Linked DNA regions of Homo sapiens: region 1 is linked to region 2. Evidence: promoter capture Hi-C in human tissues and cell types (Jung and others, 2019). All regions are on one chromosome and are shown on one strand. Each heading gives the region's core, a stretch centred on a gene start or on the middle of the fragment in contact. The rest is flanking DNA. Distances are from core to core; before and after follow the strand shown. Region 1 overlaps PSMD1 (proteasome 26S subunit, non-ATPase 1). Region 2 holds the start of ARMC9 (armadillo repeat containing 9).

Evidence for each region. Contacts are between HindIII fragments. The study calls those that stand out against the background at their distance.
Region 1: a contact is called between a fragment that was not itself captured here and the fragment with the promoter of ARMC9 in region 2, in 3 of the 25 tissues and cell types used here (IMR-90 fibroblasts, adrenal gland and dorsolateral prefrontal cortex).

The regions. Positions count from the first base shown.
Region 1 is chr2:231,139,302-231,146,794 of GRCh38, forward strand. It overlaps PSMD1 (proteasome 26S subunit, non-ATPase 1), which reads left to right. Exons shown (of 25, transcript NM_002807.4): 18 at 6,939-7,055. Among named protein-coding and RNA genes, the nearest start is that of HTR2B, 18 kb to the left of the region's middle. The HindIII fragment of the contact is 3,934 bases long and covers 4,082-7,493 here.
Region 2 is chr2:231,196,855-231,204,040 of GRCh38, forward strand. ARMC9 (armadillo repeat containing 9) reads left to right here and starts at 1,777. Exons shown (of 25, transcript NM_001352754.2): 1 at 1,777-1,844. RefSeq lists a silencer at 1,583-1,922. The HindIII fragment of the contact is 14,859 bases long and covers 1-7,186 here.

The DNA of each region.
Region 1 (7,493 bases), core at 4,799-7,298, 53 kb before region 2:
CTTTTTTTCTTTCTTTTTTTTTTTTTTTTTTTTTTTCTTTTGAGTCTTGCTCTGTTGCTTGGGCTGAAGTGCAGTGGCAGGAACACTGCCCACTGCCAACACACTCAGCTAATTTTTTTATTTTTTGTGGAGAAGGGGTCTCACTATGTTGCCCAGGCTGGTCTCACATTCCTGGGATCAAGTGATCCTCCTGCCTCAGCCTCCCACAGTGCTGAGATTACAGGCATGAGCCACTGTGCCTGGCCCATTGATTTCTTAAAAAAAAAAAAAAAAAGAAGAAGAAGAAGAAGAAAATAAAATAGTTTTTGTTGTTGTTAAATAACTACTCAGGTTATTTTATATGATTATGTTACATGTTTAATTTGTATAATTAGTATTCTGGAAAACAAGGTTCTCATCCGAAGCCACCAAAATCGGCTGATTTGATAACATTTCTGTTTTAAGCAAATCACCGATGTGCTATTTACCTGTTTTCTCATATCTAACCTTAATAGGTAACCTGGTATTTGTTAAGCCCTCAAAAGTTATAAAAAAAGAGTTGAATGGGGTAAGGTGATGATTTGAAAACATAATTCATCATGAGATTCATAAAGAAATGTGCTATTGCATAAATAACAAGTATTCATAATTCACAGCAGTGACATAATCATGACACTTTGACTCTCATAGCACATATGCACAAACCTTGGCCACCTCCCAGAAGTGAACCTTTTAACAAAGTGTGTATGTATAAGACTGAGAGCAAGGCTTTGCTCCCAGTGCCTTTGCATCAGAGAGAAAGGAGTCACTTTTTTTATCATCTGTTGTCCAAACTCAAAACAAAACATAGTTGTAAGTTTATGGACTGATTCCAGGAATCTAAAAATTTTAGATTCCTTGAATTTTTTTCCAATAAAGAATATTGGTATTGTGGGCCAGGCACTGTGGCTCACACCTGTAATCCCAGCACTTTGGGAGGCTGAGGTGGGCAGATCACGAGGTCAGGAGTTTGAGATCAGCCTGACCATCATGGTGTGAAACCCCATCTCTACTAAAAATACAAAAATTAGACAGGCATGGTGGCACACGCCTGTAACCCCAGCCACTCAGGAGGCTGAGGCAGGAGAATTGCTTGAACCCAGGAGGCAGAAGTTGCAGTGAGCCAAAATCCCGCTATTGCACTTCAGCCTGGGTGACAGAGCAAGACTCCATCTCAAAAAAAAAAAAAAAAAAAAGAGTGTTGGTATTGTGTACAAATAAGTTTTTCTAGTCACATGAAAGATTATTGAGGCTGGGAATAAAAATAGCTATTTTTGGCCAGGTGCAGTGGCTCACACCTGTAATCACAGCACTTTGGGAGGCCCAGGCGGTTGGATAACCTGAGGTCAGGAGTTCAAGACCAGCCTGGGCAACATGGCAAAACCCCAACTCTACTAAAAATACAAAAATTAGCCAGGCGTGGTGGCATGCACCTGTAATGCCAGCTACTCAGGCAGCTGAGGCAGGAGAATTGCTTGAACCCAGGAGGTGGAGGTTCCAGTAAGCCAAGATCATGCCCTTGCACTTTAGCCTGGGGGACAAGGGTGAAACTCCATCTCAAAAAAAAGGCCAGGTGTGGTGGCTTACACCTGTAATCCCAGCACTTTGGGCAACCAAGGCGGGTGGATCACCTGAGATCAGGAGTTTGAGACCAGCCTGGGTAACTTGGTGAAACCCCTTCTCTACTAAAAATACAAAAATTAACCTGCTGGGCGCGGTGGCTCACACCTGTAATCCCAGCACTTCGGGATGCCGAGGCGGGCGGATCACCTGAAGTCAGGAGTTCAAGACCAGCCTGCCTAACATGGCAAGAGCCTGTCTCTACTAAAAATACAAAAAATTAGTGTGGTGGCAGGTGCCTGTAATCCCAGATACTCGGGAGGCTGAGGCAGAATTGCTTGAACCCAGGAGGCAGAGGTTGCAGTGAGTGGAGATGGTCCACTGCACTCCAGCCTGGGCGACAAGAGTGGGACTCTGTCTCAAAAGAAAAAAAAAAAAAAGCTATTTTTCACTACACATGGCAACAATTGTGTAAAAATTTGTAAAGAGACATCCCTCCTTTCCAGTATTTCATCCTATTCTGTCTGCTTACCCTGCTATACTTTTTTTTTTTTTTTTTTTGAGACAGTGTCTCACTCTTGTCACTGTCACCCAGGCTGGAGTACAATGGGGCTATGATAGCTCACTGCAGCCTCAATCTCCCAGTCTTAAGCAAGCCTCCCAATTAGCTGGGACTGCAAACGCATACCACCATGCCAGGCTAATTTTTTTTTTTTTTTAATAGAGACTAGGTCTTGCTGTGTTGCCTGGGCTTTATTTTTCTTCACAGCACTTACCACCACCTGATATATTTTACACTTATTTATTGTTTGTCTTTGCCGAAATGTAAGATCACTGAGAATATAATGTTCACTGCTGGAACCTAAAATTAAAGCTTTGTTTGTTGCATGAATGATGGATGGCAAGATCATTAAAGGATGTGATGGTGACCAAGTTGGACATCATCTCTGTCATTACAGAGTTTTGTTTTTTATTTTTGTTTTTATTTATTTATTTGTTTGTTTATTTATTTATTTATTTTGAGATGGAGTCTCACTCTGTCACCCAGGCTGGACTGCAGTGGTGCAATCTCGGCTCACTGCAACCTCCGCCTCCTGGGTTCAAACGATTCTCCTGCCTCAGCTTCCTGAGTAGCTGGGATTACAGGCATGTGCCACCACACCCGGCTAATTTTTATATTTTTAGTAGAGGCGGGGTTTCACCATGTTGGCCAGGCTGGTCTCGAACTCCTGACCTCAGGTTGTCCACCCGCCTCAGCTTCCCAAAGTGCTGGGATTATAGGCATGAGCCACTGTGCCCGGCCAGTTTTTTTATTTTTAATTAATTTACTTATGTTTTAATTTATTTGGGGGGAGAATTTCTTACATGAGAATGTATCTTCAGTTTTACTAGAGATGTCATTGGGTATATCGAATGTAGTTATAGAAATTGGCCTTATTTTTTTTCTACAACACATCTGTTCTGTAAACAAAGGAAGAATATAGTTGTATGTTTTACTAAGTATTTCCCCCCTCGAGTCTTAAGTTGACATTTATGTCAGGCCTCATAAGTTAAATGTAAATTAGATTCTTTTTTCTTTTCAGATTATTCTGAACTTAATATGATATCTAGGAGCAAATGTTCTTTGAAACACAGCATCTGACAAGTTAATTGAATGAAAAGTTTTTTTATTACTCATACTAAACAAGCCTTTATTTCTAGATAATTTATGTGATCTAGGTATCAGTACCTATGTAACTAGTTTGGGACTTTTTTTTAATTATTTCTTAAAAACCTGAAACATCTGTTTATTCTAAAATATACCATTGGGGTTGTATTATGTACCTCAAAGGCCGAGTTACTGTCTTTTACCTTCTAAAATGGAAATTTGGTTATATTTTTATCATGACTACTTCATAAAGAATATTGACAATATGTTTGAAAAACATACTCCCTGTGCACAGTGTCATTACATGTTTCAGTAATGTAGGGAGAAAGGATACCCATATCTGCTGTGTGTATTATCTGTTAATAGCTCTAATTTTAATATATATATGTTAAGTTTACATGTAGAGGAATCCAAAGTCACTTTCCAACAAAGGATTCAGTTCATTCTTTTCCTTGGTCTTGGAATGAAGGATACTTGAGAAACATCCTACCAAATTAAGAAATATCTGATAATCTTACAAGCCTATTACTCTTTTCGTCCCAGATTTATACCTACCTAAGGACCTTGTAAGGGATGTTGTGGGGTTTTTTGTTGTTTTTCTTGTTGTTTTGTATTTTTTTTTTAACTCTAATCTCAATGACAGATTAAAGGAACGTTGTGGGTTTGGTTTGGTTTGGTTTGGTTTGGTTTGGTTTGGTTTGGTTTGGTTTGGTTTGGTTTAAGACAGAGTCTTGCTCTGTTGCCCAGGCTAGAGTGCAGTGGCGCTATCTCGGCTCACTGGAACCTCCACCTCCTGGGTTCAAGTGATTCTCCTGCCTCAGCCTCCCCAGTAGCTGGGATTACAGGTGCCCACCACCACGCCCAGCTAATTTTTGTATCTTTAGTAGAGACGGGGTTTCACCATGTTGGTCAGGCTGGTCTCGGACTCCTGACCTCGTGATCCACCTGCCTCGGCCTCCCAAAGTGCTGGGATTATAGGCGTGAGCCACCGTGCCCGGCCAGGGACATTGTGTTTTAAAGTGGCTCTTCCCAAAAGTCCTGCAGAGTGTGAATAGAAGTTATACGGGGCAAAAGAGTTTTTGATCAAATACATTGGACAAATGCTGGTATAAACAACAGTTGAGTGGTTTATAATAAGGCATCCTAGAACTTTTGTTATGATATGTATATTCCTAGAACCTTTGATACAGTGTATACATATATTTTGTATCTGCAAGAGGAGATGATATATATACAGTATGCCTGAACTCCCAAACTTATTTATTAAAGGACTTCTTTTTTCATAGAACTGATATTCTGAAGAATAGGATATTGGGGAAATACTGATAAATATTTTGGAAAATTTCATCACTTGTGGTCTTAGGAAGTGCAACCATGAAATCAATTCTAGTCTATGATTTCATTTGTTTTGCTATTCTACTAGCTAGTAAAATATTTTGTTTGGAAAATTTTGGGTTTTTTGTTTGTTTATTTTTTTGTCTTGATTTAACTTTTAAAATTAGGTCTTATAAAATCATCTGAGATGTTACCTTACTCTAATATTTGTTTATTACTATTTTTCTTTTTTCTTTTTTATATTAGAGACAGGGTCAACTATGTTGCGCAGGCTAGTCTTGAACTCTTGGGATCAAGTAGTCATCCCACCTTGCCTCTCAGAGTGTTGGGATTACAGGCGTGAGCCATCGCACCCAACCTTACGCTAATATTTGAAAGAGGTTTGTTTCCTTTTTTTTTTTTTTTGGAGACAGAGTTTCACTCTTGTTGCCCAGGCCGGAGTGCAATGGCACTATCCTGCCTCACTGCAACCTCTGCCTCCTTGGTTCAAGCGATTCTCCAGCCTCAGCCTCCTGAGTAGCCAGGACTTCAGGCACCCGCCACCACGCCCAGCTAATTTTTTTTTTTTTTTTTTTTTTTTTTTTTTTTGTATTTTTGGTAGAGACAGGGTTTCACCATGTTGGCCATGCTGATCACGATCTCCTGACCTCAGATGATCCACCCTCCTTGGCCTCCCAAAGTGCTGGGATTACAGGCATCTGCCACCACGCCCAGCTAATTTTTGTATTTTTAGTAGAGAAGGGGTTTTACCATGTTGGCCAGGCTGGTCTCAAACTCCTGGCCTCAATTAATCCACCCACTTTGGCCTCACAAAGTGCTGGGATTACAGGCACAAGCCACCACGCCCACCCAGCCTGACAGAGGTTGAATTATACAAATTTTGGATTCAGACTGGCCTGGGTTTGCTATCAGTACTTACTCGACTTTGGGCAAGTTATTTAACCTTTCTATCTCTCAGTTTCTTTGTTTATAAAGATTGTTTTGTGCTGGATTTTGTTTGTTTTAGGAGTAAGAGGGTTATATAGCATAATACATAAAATACCTAGTACTGTGTCTGAAAAGTAATAGGTGTTTATCAAATGTTAATCCCATTTTCTCTTAATTTTTTATGACCTCTTACCTCAAGACGAGAGCGCTCAGGTTCTAAAGCTTCCTTTTCACTTACCCTCAGTTATATTGAAATTTAAGTAAAGCATGACCAGTTCTAAACTATTCCATTCACGTAGTTGTTAATTAACTTCTTACTACACTGTTGGATGAAATTATTGACTTAGAGTGACAGTAGATATAGTTGTGCATCATTTAAGAACAGGGATGCGTTCTGAGAAATGGCAGTTCCGTGAATGTACAAACATCATAGAGTATACTTACACAAACATAGATAGTTATGGTCTGTTGCTTCCAGAATACATACCTGTACGTCATGTTACTGTACTGACTAGGCAGTTATGGTAAAAATACAGTATAAAAGATAAAAAATCATACAACTATATAGGGCACTTAACCCTGAATGGAACTTGTAGGACTGGAACTTGCTCTGGGTGAGTCAGTGAGTGAGTGTTGAGTGAATGTGAGGGCGTACGACACTATTGTCACTATAATAGACTTTATAAACACTGTACACTTTGGCTACTAAATGTATACATTTTTTCTTCAATAATTGATCTTAGCTTATCTTTTTTTAATAAATTTTTAATTATTTTTAATTTTTTGACTCTTGTAATAACACTTGGTTTAAAACACAAACCTGGGCGGACACAGTGGCTCACGCCTATAATCGCAGCACTTTGGGAGGCTGAGGTGGGTGGATCACCTGAGGTCAGGAGGTGGAGACCAGCCTGGCCAACGTGGTGAAACCCATCTCTACTAAAAATACAAAAATTAGCCGGGGGTGGTAGCATGCACTTGTAATCCCAGCTACTCTGGAGGCTGAGTCAGGAGAATTTCTTAAACCCAGGAGGCAGGGGTTGCAGTGAGCCAAGATCGCGCCATTGCACTCCAGTCTGGGTGACAAGAGTTGAAGCTACATCTCAAAAAAAAAAAAAAAAAAAAAAAAAAAATTGTACCATTGTACAAAAATATTTTTTCTTTATGTTCTGTAAGGTTTTTTCTGTTTTCAAAATGATTTATTTATATTTTTTAAACTTTTTTGTAAAAAACTAAGACACACATACATTATACTAGGCCTACACAGGGCCAGTATCATCAATAAGTCACTTAGGCAATAGTAATTTTTCAACTCCATTATAATGGGACTACCATCATATATGCAGTGTGTCACTTCCCAGAATGTCGTTACATGGCATGTGACTATAAATTGAAAGTTCAGCCATATCAACTTTATTTAAAAGTTGTGTGTTTTTTTAAATTCTTTCAGGAAGCCATTAATTTGCTAGAACCAATGACAAACGACCCCGTGAACTACGTGAGGCAAGGGGCACTCATAGCTTCAGCTCTCATCATGATCCAGCAGACTGAAATCACTTGTCCAAAGGTGAGCAAACAAAGAAATTCCCTGGAAGAGAGATGGTTTGGTCTTTTCTTTAGTAACTTATCGTCTTTTGAGGACGTTTTTTAGTTCAAATATGGTAAACACTGAAAGTAAAGTAAAAGTAAAGAGAGCATTTTAGAGTATAAGAGAATGGGGAAACTTTAAATATGTAATGCTCTTTAAATGTATTTTTTAGACTTAATGGTCCCTTTGTTAATTTAAGTATATAACCATGCTTGAAAAATTAGAACTCTTGGGGTGTTAAAACCGTAAAATGAACTCTTTTTTTGCCTTTCACTGTCCTTTTAAAATGTATTCAGTGGGATAACTTTTTCCTCTGATAATATAGGATGCAAACTTAGGCAGTCCATGCCTTTTTTGATCTGTCCTTCTAAAGTAATTTTTAAAAAGCCTGCAGTCACTTTGTATCGTACATACCAT
Region 2 (7,186 bases), core at 527-3,026:
AAGGGGGTCATCCGTGCATCATATGGGAGGCATGAGAAAGACAGGACTGTGGGTCTGATGAAGTCATATGTGGAAGGGTAGTTCTTTCTGATAAGCTACTTCCCAGAACACAAAAGTGTGGAGGATTTTAGAAAACAAAAGGTTTGGGGGTGCGTGGGTGAGATTTCTTAACTGTGGCTGTTTTCTAAGAGCACACAGCTCAGGTTAATTACAACATTGTCAATCAGTAAAATGCTGAAAATATTATTCATCTCATAGATGTGGTGTGAGAATTAAAAACTTTTTTTTTTTTGAGACAGAGTCTCACTCTGTTGCCCAGGCTGGAGTACAGTGGCGTGATCTCGGCTCACTGAAACCTCCATCTTCCGGGTTCAAGGATTCTCCTGCCTCAGCTTCCCGAGTGGCTGGGACTACAGGCACATGCCAATACGCCCAGCTAATTTTTGTATTTTTAGTAGAGACAGGTTTCACCATGTTGGCCAGGCTGGTCTGAAACTTGTGACCTTAGGTGATCCATCTGCCTTGGCCTCCCAAGTGCTGGGATTACAGGTGTGAGCCACCGTGCCGGGCCTGGTGTGAGAACTAAAGAAAACAATCTATATGATTCACTTAGCACAATGCTGGGCACACATATAGGCTGCACGTTTTGCAAACAAAAATACAGAACAATATAACATCCTACATGCACAATAAAATGAAGCAGTTTTTGGGATTTACTTACACTAAAACATTATCTAAAATTTACATTTAACTGTGTGTTCTATATTTTGTCTGGCATCTCCCGGCATACAGTTGTGTTGACGATAAATATTATGGCCATGGATTGAAGATTTATTTTCAATCCATATTACCTGGACAGAAGATAGGGCTCTCTTCTACTAAATACAGCTTTTTTTCTTTTGGAAGACAATCCACTGGCAGGGTTGGGGACTGGGGAAGTGGTGGCCACAGCCCATCTTAGGGCTTCTTCAAAGGCGAGCTGACCTACCTTCTCCGTGCCCCATTCCCTGTCTCTGGCCCTGGTAGCCTCCTCCTTCTTGGAAGCATGGAGGTGGAAACACTGAGGTGGCAACGAGAGACTCCCACGGAATCTCAACGCCTGGAGGGGAGGGATTTTCTATCCATGGCCATCTCTTCACCCTCCAGCACAAAGTTGGGTGACTAGCAAGTGCTCATTCAGTGCTGATGAACTTCAGTTCAAAAGCATCAGGTGCAAAGAGAGGGAAGACGTGTGCTCCTGATTTATTTTTAATAGCCCACATTTGACATGGAAAACAAAAAGTTTCTCTGAAATCCTTGGAAACCGCTGCAGTGGGGCGGGACCCTGGTCCCCGGAGCTTTAATGCACATCTTGGGCGTCACTTTTGGTTCTAAGGTGGCCCCAGGTCCCTCCTTTAAGATGGGAATAACCATGCCTGACTCTTTCCCCACGGACACCACACTGTCCTAGTTTGTGTTCTCTACGCGACCACGAGCTCCTTGAGACAAGGGGTTGAGCCTGCTCCGGCTCATCCCGAGAGCCGGCGCAGCGACTGGCGCAACGAAAGGGAAATGAACGAATGAATGAACGAACGAAAGTGGAGTGGTGGAGAGGACCACAGAAGACGCGGTCATCCAGCGCGTGAACCTTCACCACTGCTGGGCTGTGGACCCTCACTTCCGCCGCCAGGAAGTTTCGGGGTCGCCCACCTTCCCTCCCAGGCTGCTCCGCGTCGGCGGCGCCCCGCGCGATTGGCTGCGCCGCCCCCACGTGACGCCGGGGTGGCGGCGGCGGTTGCCCGGGTGACGGCTGCGGAGGTGGCGGCCGGGCTGGGATAGCGCGAGTGTCCGCGGCCGAGCAGCAGGTAAGCGCGTCCCCGGATGCAGCCGGGCCACCCTCCGCCCGCCGTCCTGGTGCTGGGAGGAGCAGCGGTGCGTTTGGAGGGCCGAGGCTCTGCGGACCTCTTGTTCCGAGGAAAAACCCGACGCGCCCGCTCCGCCGCCGCCGGATGCTACCACTTCTCGCCTGCGGTCCAGGGATCTTTCTTCGGCAAGGGCCGAGGCGGCCGCCTGGACATCCCAAGAAAGGACAGGCCCAGCTGCTTCCCGCAAGTAGTCCCTGATCTTTGCTGCAGTGGGCCATACTTGGAGGGGGTCCCTCAAGCCATCCAGCTGGTGGTGGCGGCGCGAGCGGGTTATCCGGGATTTAGATCCCCCTGATAATCTCCATCTGCTAGCCGCGTTCCTGAGGCACCCAGTTGAAGTCCAGACTTCACCTAATCTTAGGAAAAACAGGATGCGTGCTATGCAGATTCGGCTTCCATACAAATCCCATAATCCCACCCGTTTGTGGGCCCTAAATCTTTCTTATATAGGAATTCAAAAGCTGCCGCTGCAATCCCCAAATGTAACTGGAAAAGTTTTTCTTAGTTTCCGCATAAAGGAGAGCACTGGTTCTCAAACTTGAGAGTGTGTAAAAGTCACTCAGGGAGCTTGTTTAAAAGGCAGATTTCTGGGCATGGTGCCTGCCACGGTGTTCAGTAAGACCAGGGTGGAGGCAGGAATTTTCATTTGCACAAGCGTGCCAGCTGATTCTGATTTAGGTGGTCCAGACTTTGGGAAATACTGTGTAGTGGTTCTTTTCAGCCGCTTAGTCACTTACTGTGGCTGTTGGGAGTGTGTCAGACTTCCTGGGCCTCAAATTGCCTCATCTGGAATGGGAAAATATAAACTATATTCACCTGTCAGGTTTACTATGAAGGTTAAATGTAAAACATTTTGCACATTGCCTGGCATACCATATACCTTCAATAAATGATACCTATTATGATATAAAAGTTTAGAGAAAATTCTGTAATTTCTTTTTCTTTTCCTTTTTTTGAGACGGAGTCTTTCCCTGTCGCTCAGGCTGGAGTGGAGTGGCATGATCTCGGCTCACTGCAACCTCCACCTCCTGGGTTCAAGCGATTCTCTTGCCTCAGCCTCCCTGGTAGCTGGGATTACAGGTGCAGACGCCACCACGCCCGGCTAATTTTTGTATTTTTAGTAGAGATGGGGTTCCACCATGTTGATCAGGCTGGTCTCGAACTCCTGACCTCAGGTGATCCGCCTGCCTCAGCCTCCCAAAGTGTTGGGATTACAGGTGTGAGCCACTGTGCCTGGCCAATTCTGTAATTTCTAAGAATGTTGAGTAATAGGATACCCAGCAGCACTCACATTCAATGACAGTTGATCACAGCAGATACTATTTAAACGGCTTAGGGAGGTCTACTCTAAGGAGGTGATGTTTATTAGGCACAGTGGTTAACCAGGTGAAGAGAGGGAAGAGTGTTCTAGGCGGAGAGAGTAATATGCGCAAAGGCCTTGAGGTTGGCCTCAAGGTTTCAAATTCTCAGAAACTCACTTTTCCCGTTCCAGGGCCTTTAAAATGACATCCCCTCAGCTCCGGCTTCATTTATTCATTATATGCCTTGAGTACCTTTCTTGCTTACTAGACACTCTGTTAGGTTCTGGGGATATGAAGTTGAAATACAGCTCCCTGTCTTTGTGAACAGGGTTATAAGAAGTGCCAGGTGCAGTGGCTCATGCCTGTAATCCCTGCACTTTGGGTGGGTGAATCGCTTGAGGTCAGGAGTTCAAGACCAGCCTGGCCAACCTGGTGAAACCCTGTCTCTACTAAAAATACAAAAATTAGCTGGGCGTTGGTGGCGGACGCCTGTAATCCCATATACTTGGGAGGCTGAGGCAGGAGAATCACTTGAACCTGGGAGGCAGAGGTTGCAGTGAGCCAGATTGCACCTTTGCACTCCAGCCTGGGCGGCAAAAGTGAAACTCCATCTCAAAACAACAAAATTAGCTGGGCGTCATGGCGCATGCCTATAACCCCAGCTACTTGGGAGGCTGAGGTGGGAGAATCACTTGAACCCAGGAGGTGGAGGTTGCAGTGAGCCGAGATCCCGCCACTGCACTCCAGCCTGGGCAACAGAGCTAAACTCCATCTCAGAAAAAGAAAAAAAAAAAAAAGCCTTGGTAGGGAAAGAAGGGAGGGGTTTTTCATGGAAGACTTCTTGAAAAGAGATTAAATCTGGCTTGGCTTAGAATCATGAGTCATGTTTGCCTGGGGGGGCAGAGCATACATCAACCACAGGCTTAGGATCCTGGAAGAGCTTGTTGCATGGGGGAATGGCCAGGAGTTCGCTGTTGGCAGGGTCCAGTGTGGGATTGGTGGAAGGGAGCAAGGAGAGGGATCAGGTAGGGGGAGGTGGATGGATTGGAGGCATGGTCCAGAAAAAGGCTGGAGAGGTGGGTGTCCCCCAGGAGCAGCTGCCTTTCTTCTCTCCCCTTTTGCATCTGGCAGGGCTGGTGTGGTGCATGGGGAGGTGTCCTCCCTGCTCCTCATTACTGCTTCCAGATCACTACCCACTCCTTCACAAACCCCAGCTCCTTTGAAGCACATGGCAGATGCCATACCCCTTGCCAGCCCTCCCTGAGGTAGCCACTTCCCAGGGCAAGTCTCTCCAGTTCCCTTGGAGCCTCCAGCACCCGGCTGGCTGCCTATCCCTTCATCTCTTTTACTTCACTTTTGGGGGTTTCCACATCCTGGCCCCTCCAGTTTCTTCATCCTCCTTACTTGCAGGCGTCTCTTTCCTCCATCCTCCTCATCTGCCCACTCCCGTGGTCGGGAGCTTTTTAGTACTAGTCACCTTCAAAGTCTTGCCTTCAGGCATCTGTCCCACTCTCTGCCCACTCCTTTCCATCTTTCACACTCACTGGAATGTGCCTCCTTCAGCAGGTCTCAGACCCCACTGCTTCCTCACTGCTCTGCAGCCGCCTTATGTGTGTTCCCCTCCCCCATTCTTAACCTGATTAGTTCCAGTGTCCCATCGTGGTTGTACTGTTTTCCCTTTCCTCTCTCTTCTAGAAGAACCTCTCACATTGGTTAACCTAACTCAGATAGCTGAAAGTGCCTGGAGAAGAGCTGCAAAACTGTGCAGACTGATTCCATTTTAGATTCAAGTGCAGAGATCTTAAATGGACTATAATACCAGCAACCCTGCCATGTTGCTGTAGTCGCTTTGGTTCCCACCCTCCCTTCCGTTCCCACTCTCCCTTCTCTTCGAACTGTCACCATGCTTCTTACTTGCAGCCGATGACCTTTTTTCTTTCTTTCTTTTTTTTTTTTTTTTGACAGAGTCTCACTCTGTTGCCCAGGATGGAGTGCAATGGCACGATCTCGGCTCATTGCAACCTCCACTTCCTGGGTTCAAGCGATTCTCCTGCCTCAGCTTCCAGAGTAGCTGGGATTACAGGTGCCTGCCACCACACCCGGCTAATTTTTGTATTTTTAGTAGAGATGGGGTTTTACCATGCTGGTCAGGCTGGTCTTGAACTCCCAGCATCAGGCGATCTGCCTGCCTTGGCCTCCCAAAGTGCTGGGATTACAGGCGTGAGCCACCGTGCCCAGCTGATCTTGTTTCTTGTTTCACTTTTTTTTTTTTTTTTTTTTTGAGACAGGGTCTTACTTTGTCACCTAGGCTGGAGTGCCATGGCGTGATCCCGGCTCACTACAGCCTTGACCTTCCTGGTTCAAGTGATCCTCCTGTCTCATCCTCCCCAGTAGCTGGGATTACAGGCACACACCACCACACCCAGCTAATTTTTGTATTTCTGTAGAGATGAGGTTTCACCACGTTGCCCAGGCTGGTCTCGAACTCATGAGCTCAAGTGATCTGCCTGCCTTGGTGTCCCAAAGTGCCAAGATTACAGGTGTGAGCCACTGCACCCAGCCTGTTTCACTTCTAATCACTAAATCTGTGTCTTTGCTCAGCACCCATATTCTCTGCTATCCCTCTGAATGCCGTTCCTGCTTCTCCCTTAAACTCCAGGCTCATATATCTGTAAGAATTAAAGAAAGAGGAGAGAAACACGAAGGGTGACTTGACAGTCAACAGGTTTGTTTCCTGGGTAACGGCCAAACTTCACCCTCTTACAATGGGCCTCAGTATAACAGTGGGCCTTAATAAGGACATTCTGTTCCCTTCAGGTGCACTAAGGGAAGCTAAAAGCAGACTTGGGGGGTATGCCTGCAGCTGCAGAAAGTTGTATAGGAACAGACACACAACTCTCCCTCCCAGATAAGCACAACAGAGAGACACAGAAACAGTTCAAGCCTTTGATAAACTCTCCCACCCTGAATCCTTAAAAACTCTTAGTCTGTAGGAGAGTGTGGCTCTGACCTAACTCGGTCGGAAGTCCCTCCCAGGTTTGAAATAAACCTGTTGACTGTCGAGCCACCCTTCGTGTTTCTCTCCTCTCTCCTCTTTCTTTGGTTCTTACAATACCCACTGACCATTTCGGAACCTCCACTGGAATGTCTAACAGGCAGCTCAGACTTATAGCCAAAACAGAGCTCTTGGTTTGACCTCAAAACAGTCCTTCCCCAGGTTTTCGTTGACTCAGCAAATCACATACTCTTCGGCCAGCTGCTCAGATCCCAGGGTTCTTCCTTCCCTTCTTCCCCTCATGTCCCACAACTAACTGGTCTGCAGATTGTGCCTCTTCTGCCTTTTCCATCTGGACTCACAGCGCTCATGGCCCCTCTTGCTTATCCAAATGATGCTCATGGCTGGCGTGGCCTGAGCAGTACTCATCTCCCTCTTCCCACTCCCCTCCAGTCTTCTCTGTAGAGCAGGCAACATGCATATTAAAAAATGGACATCAGCAGCCGGGCGTGGTGGCTCACCCCTGTAATCCCAGCACTTTGGGAGGCAGAGGAGGGAGGATTGAGCCCAGGAGTTCAAGACCAGCCTGAGCAATGGTGAAATCCTGTCTCTGAAAAAACCAAGGCTGGGCGTGGTGGCTCATGCCTGTAATCCCAGCACTTTGGGAGGCCGAGGCAGGTGGATCACCTGAGGTCAGGAGTTCGAGACCAGCCTGGCCAACGTGGTAAAACCCCGTCTCTACTAAAAATACAAAAATTAGCTAGGCATGGTGGCGGGTGCCTGTAATCCCAGCTACTCGGGAGGCTGAAGCAGGAGAATTGCTGGAACCCCGGAGGTGGAGGTTGCAGTGAGCCAAGATTGTGCCATTCTACTCCAGCCCAAGCAACAACAGCGAGACTCTGTCTCAAAAACAAACAAACAAAAAAAAACCTCACCAAAAACCAAACAAATGAAAAAACCAGAAAACAAAAGACTTGGGGCATAGT